Regions from separate parts of the Homo sapiens genome. Here region 1 is linked to region 2. Evidence: promoter capture Hi-C in human tissues and cell types (Jung and others, 2019). All regions are on one chromosome and are shown on one strand. The core of a region is centred on a gene start or on the middle of the fragment in contact, and the rest is flanking DNA. Distances in the headings are between cores, read along the strand shown. Region 1 overlaps MYEF2 (myelin expression factor 2). Region 2 holds the start of SLC24A5 (solute carrier family 24 member 5).

Region 1 (3,091 bases), core at 298-2,797, 44 kb after region 2:
AAAATCCTTTTGAAATATTACTGCTCATTGACAATGCACTTGTCACCCAAGAGTGCTAAAGAAGATATACAAGAAGACTAATGTTGTTTGCAGGTCTATTAACACAATATCCACTCTGTAACCCATCAATCAAGAAATAATTTTAACTTTCAAGCCTGATTATTTAAGAAATACAATTTGTAAGGCTATTGCTGTCATAGACAGTGATTCCTCTGATAGACCTGGGCAAAGTAAATTAAAAACCTTCTGGAAAGAATGTACCATTCTAGATGTCATTAAGAACATCTGTGATTCATAAGGTCAAAATATCAATACTAACAGGAGTTTGGAATAAGTGGATTCTAATCCTAATGGATGACTTTGAGGGCTTCAAGATTTCAATGGTGGATGTAACTGAAGATGTGATGGAAAGAGCAAGAAAACTAGAATTAGAAGTGGATCCTGAAGATGTGAATAAATTGCTGTAAACTCATGATAAAACCTAAACAAATTAGGAGTTACTTCTTGTATGAGCAAAGAAAGTCATTTCTTGAGATGGAATCTACACCTGGTGAATATGCTATGTACACTGTTGAAATGACAACAAAGGATTTAGAATATTATATAAATTTAATTGATAAAGCAGCAGCAGGTTTGAGAGGACTGACTTCAATTTTGAAGGAAGTTCAACCGTAGGTAAAATGCTATCAAACAACATCACATGCTTCAGAGAAATCTATTATGAAAGGAAGACTCAACTGATACAGCAAACTTCATTGTTCTTAATTTAAGAAATTGCAACAGCCACCCCAAACTTTAGTAACCATCACCCTGATCAGTCAGCAGCCATCAGCACTGAGGCAAGACTCTCCACCAGCAAAAAGGTTACAGTGAAAGTTCAAATGATCACTAGCATTTTCAGCAATAAAGTATTTTTAAATTAAGGCATGTATATTGTGCTTTTAGACATAATGCTATTGCACACTTTAAACAGAATATAGTATAAACGTAACTTTTATGTGTACTGCAAAACCAAAACATACATATGACACAGTTTATTGTTATATTTGCTTTATTGCAGTAGTCTGGAACCAAACCTACAATAGCTCCAAGGTATGCCTCTATTATCAGTAGTACTACTACCATTACTTCAGTTTAGAGAAATTAAGTAGCATGTCTAGACACCCACTAGAAAGTGATAAAGCCAGGAATCAAATCATTAGTATACTATTAAATGCCATGGGTGACAGTACTGCTCTACAACCAATGATTAGCATCAGTATTAGTACAAAATCTTCAGGGTCCCAAAGTTACACTATTTATCTCTTTTAACACAGACTTTAGCAAGTATATGTACATAACAGGTCTGTAATCAAACTATTAAGATTAACAATACAAAATAAAGGAACCTATGAAGATGAGTGCTATTCAAGCCAATCATTCTCAAGGTTAAACTGTAAATTTTTTGTTTGTATCTTCTAGTCATTTTTTGTCAACCTGTTTACACTGCTACAATTTTGTACAAAGAAGACATTTCCATTTTAGGGGATTCCAACTTCTAGTTATAAATTTCACTAACAAAGTTATAATTTTTCTTAAATTTTAATCTAGTACAGTTTCCAAGTAACTCTGATAAAAAGTGAATATCAATTTTATTCAAATCCATAACATATTTGCATTAAGTGACCTTTAATTATCAATTACAAGGATATTATATTTCTCAAATAACAAAATCTAAATATTGAAAATGTCTGTACCAAATAAACTTAGCACCTAAAGTTTATCCCCTTTGAATTTCTAGGTCCTCAAATTTTTTTAAATTATGTGCTTTTATTTTTAACAACTTGGAACCAATCAAGTATATAGGATAACTGCTTAACAGCAAATATAAAATCATGTACAAGTAAAACTTTCGTCAATATATAATGCTTTAATGAACACCTATGTTTTAAAAAAAAGTTGTAGTCAGGCAAATATATTACCAAATTGAAAATCCAAGGAAAACATGTCTTTATAGTCAAATGTTTAAATTCTAAATATGAGAAATCTTACCTCTTTAATATTAAGGGGTCTTCCACTAAGATCATATTTGTTCATAGTTTCTAGGGCTTTCTTTACAAATTCTTCATCTTTGAATTCAACCACACTTAATAGGGAAAAAATTTATAGGAAATGTTTATGTGCTAATTTTTTTCCAAAGTTTAATTTGACTTAAGATACTTAAAGAAAAAATTTCTTACCCACAACCCTATATCCAGGTAGATTTGTCAAAATATGCAAAAGAAAAAAAGTTTTAGATCAGTACATGAAGTTAATAATCAGTTCTAACATTTCAATCATTAAGGCAATTAATAATATGGTAGAATCACTTCATCTTTTATACCTCCAGAACATAACAGGCAAGTAACCACAAATTTTCTCTAAATTTTTAAATATATCTATTAAAGATAGTAGACTCTAACATGTAACAAGCTTGGAGCACATTTTTCACTTTTAGGTGACTTTTCATTAAGTTAAAATTAATGTCACTGCACAAATTAAATCAACAGGAATTCAAGGAAATAACTAAAGGCTCCAATAGACCTATCCTTCTGTAGTTACAAATATTTTCAAAAAATGTATTGTCTACGACATATTTTTCAACTCTATTAAAATCAAAATAGTGAATAAATATTAATTTTATTTTTAACAAGTTCTCTATTAGATTAAAACTGGCTGCACATTTAACAGCACCCAGTTGGAAGTATGTAAAAATCATCTATAAACTAATAATAAATTAATTTGGAGAGTTATTTAAAAAATAATTCCCTGTGATTGCCATTCAAAGTCCCATATGAATGTAATGACAAAATTTTTATTCATCATGCACCCAACTAGTTTTACTAACATAATGAAACATTGCTAAGAGTTTTCCATTGTATTCTTCAGTATACTGCATTCTTATTGCTAAAAATCAAAATATACTATCAACCAATTCCTTCTACGTCAATATAATCGTAAATGTCATTCATACCAATTGGTCAGAGCACTGCCTCTCATGTAGTCCTGCAGGCTACCAAATTTAACTTTTCAGTAAAATTTCAAAAATACATTCTGAACTAACACCTTTAAG
Region 2 (3,198 bases), core at 519-3,018:
ATGTGCATTGGAAGCTTTCACTTTGGGTTTGAGCTTTTTATATTATTGGTATTTTATTTGTTTATGATGTTTTATGAATTGATTGAAGTACTGTGTGTTGAAGAGGAGAGGCTCGCAAGACACTTCCACTCAGCATAAAACTAAACGACCTCTTCCCTTAGTCTTAGCTAGCTGGCATGTAGGCCACTCCCCAGTGATCAGGGTGCTGCTTCCTGCGAGTGTAGACAGCTGGAACTCTGCTTGTTGAGAATCTGCTCTATACTGGGCTATGCTTTGGTGACTCATCATCACAGCCTCACAATCACACCATACATCTGAATATCTAGTTCCTAGAAATGACAGTTTTGGAGAGGTTTATAATGGATACCAATTCCCACAAAAAAAAGTAGTTTTTGAGACTTTCTTCCGACCCAAGATCACAAACATCAGGAAGCAACTTACTCCGTTCCATCAGATAAAGCTAGTTTCTAAATAGAAAACTTACTAGGCATATCAATTTTTGTGTTTTTTCTGCAAAGCAAAGGAACCATGAAAGTTGCAAAACTACAAAAATTTTTATGAACAAAAACGCTTCTATTTCAATTGAAAGAAAGAAAGAGAAAGAAAAAGAAAGAAAGAAAGAAAGAAAGAAAGAAAGAAAGAAAGAAAAAGAAAAGAAAAGAAAGGAAGAAAGAAAGAAGGAACGAAGGAAAGGAAGGAAGGAGGGAAGGAAGGAAGGAGAGAAAGAGGAGGAGGAGAAGAAAGGAAGGAAGGAAGGAAGGAAGGAAGGGAGGAAGGAAGGAAAACAAACAAAACAAAGAAAAAGAAAGGAAGGAATGAAGACGTCAGCCAGAGGTCGTTCTGAGCAAATTATTTGCGTTCATTTTTGTAATTCTTACCACAACCCAAATACAGGTGATCCCTGTTTTACAGATAGCAGAACTGTGTAGCAGAAAGGTTAAATAACATGCCAAAAGTCACATAACTAGTAAGTAGCAGTGCTAGGGCTCAAATCATGTGGTCTGGTTCCATAGCCTGTGCTATTAGCTATAGGTTACTACACTGCCAAAAGTTCTAAATATCTTGGCAAGCCTCATAAATGTTAGCATAGGGAAGATAGTAGTCTATATTTAAACACTACCTTGTACGTCAAATTTGCATTTTAGATAGCTCCCTCTGGCAGAAAGCACAGCCTATCAATGATCAAATAGCATCCACTCCATCTCAATAATTCTTGAAACTGTCAGCTACTCTCCATCCCCGTTGCCACAGCCTTGGTTCAAGCCACTATCATTTCTCAGCTAGACGATTGCAATGATGCCCTAACTGGCCTTTCTCCCTTTGGCCCTAACTGAAGATGAAGATGAGAGGCTAAAACAGAAATATGAAAGGATGCCGAGCTAGCCAAAGCATGTACATATATTAATATCAACCCAAACAACTTCTAGGGGAAAGGGCTGGAGAGAGATGGGAAGCAGTTGCAAACCCAACTTTTTACAAATCTAGAGAAAGTCAAAAGCAGAGCCAGTATGAAGACATTAAATAAAACCACACATTTTCATAAAGTACAAGCTGCCTTAATCTGCCCTTAGAGACTGTAGGCCATGGAAATAGCTATAGACAATGGTTGTCAGCTCTCCTCCGTCTCCTCCGGCCTCCCTGGAGATTGGGTCTCCTGATCAGAGAAGCTTGACTGGCTACACTCGCCCTTTCTCCTGTGCTGGCCTTGCTGAGATGTGCCCTGGGCAGGGTATTGGGCAGGAAGGAGACTCCTCACATGATCCAGTTTAATCCTCCTCTTCTCCCTTCCTGAAGCTGCACGCTGCAGTAAGAGCACAGCAGAAATGCAGACAAAAGGGGGCCAAACATGGGCGAGAAGGGCTCTGTTGCTCGGCATCCTGTGGGCCACTGCACATCTGCCTCTCTCAGGGACCTCCCTGCCCCAACGTCTCCCAAGGGCCACAGGTAGGTGGACATTGGGGTCAGTTAGCTCTGCAGCAGCAGCTGCTGCTGCTGCTACCACATACAGATGAAGGGACAAAAAGAGGAAAATTCTCAATGGGCTCACTTTTACTTACGCTTCTGAATTTTAGCATTTAAAAAGATATCAAACACTTTTGATCCTTCAAATAAGTTCTTAAATATACTCCAAAGTAATTCACAGAGATCATAGTAGGCCAAGTCTCCAGTTTTTGTTCTTGGAGACTTTTTGGTGAAAACAAAAAATCTTTCATCTTAGAAATTCTCTCTGCAACAGTGGATGGATTCTTTGCAGGCCTGTGAACAATTTAGGCTCTGCAATGAGAAAACGAAATTGTATAAACAATAGAAATCTTCATGTATCAGAGATACAGTTTCTACTTGGGGAAGAGAGATTCAGAAATAAAAACAAGGAGGAGTGATTTCATGATTTCCTCTTTTTAATTCTTCACCATCATCAACATATTTCATTAAGATATCTCTTTTCAGTCCCCCAAAAAAATTTTTTGAAAACTCTACAACTGTGTTATATTCAGAAGCGCTTTATACATTTTCAGTGGGTCCTTAAAATTCCACCCGGTTACCCCACACTTACAGATTTCTTAAGGAAGCTCTCTGTGGGCTTGGAATGTGTGACTCCAAACTCTTCAAACTTTCACCTCCTTTTCCTTAACAGGAAATAGCACCCAATGTGTTATTTCTCCATCATCGGAGTTTCCCGAAGGGTTTTTCACGAGACAGGAGCGCAGAGATGGAGGCATCATAATCTATTTCCTAATTATCGTTTACATGTTCATGGCCATATCTATTGTCTGTGATGAATACTTCCTACCCTCCCTGGAAATCATCAGTGAATGTAAGTGGCTGGAAAGTTGCCCTGTAACCTTCTGGGAGAGTGTGCCACACAGATATGACTGTCTTTGAAATAGCTCAGCAGCTGTCCTGTACTTCTCAACTGGTTGCAGAGCACCAGCTTCTTGTTGTGGGGTCCCGTGTCTTAAGGAACTGGTCGAGTGTGGTTTCTCTTGGTAGTTAATGTGAATCAGAGTTTCTTCAAGTTAGAACCCGGCAGTTATTATTTTTCTGCCTATTTCCAGAAATCTCTAGTTTGTCTACTGCCTGGATGTTTGTTATAAGAACTGTTCCAAGATTTCACTTGTATGTACTTTGTGTGCGCTCCTAATACAATGAAACTCCTAATATTTGCCATTTTATGCTTCAAAAAACTTTTTTTTATTT

The links. Contacts are between HindIII fragments. The study calls those that stand out against the background at their distance.
Region 1: a contact is called between a fragment that was not itself captured here and the fragment with the promoter of SLC24A5 in region 2, in 1 of the 25 tissues and cell types used here (dorsolateral prefrontal cortex).

Annotation. Positions count from the first base shown.
Region 1 is chr15:48,163,902-48,166,992 of GRCh38, forward strand. MYEF2 (myelin expression factor 2) reads right to left here. Exons shown (of 17, transcript NM_016132.5): 4 at 2,220-2,227; 5 at 2,032-2,125. Among named protein-coding and RNA genes, the nearest start is that of MYEF2, 13 kb to the right of the region's middle. The HindIII fragment of the contact is 6,022 bases long and covers 1-3,091 here.
Region 2 is chr15:48,119,222-48,122,419 of GRCh38, forward strand. SLC24A5 (solute carrier family 24 member 5) reads left to right here and starts at 1,769. Exons shown (of 9, transcript NM_205850.3): 1 at 1,769-1,944; 2 at 2,636-2,815. The coding sequence starts at 1,824. The HindIII fragment of the contact is 7,987 bases long and covers 841-3,198 here.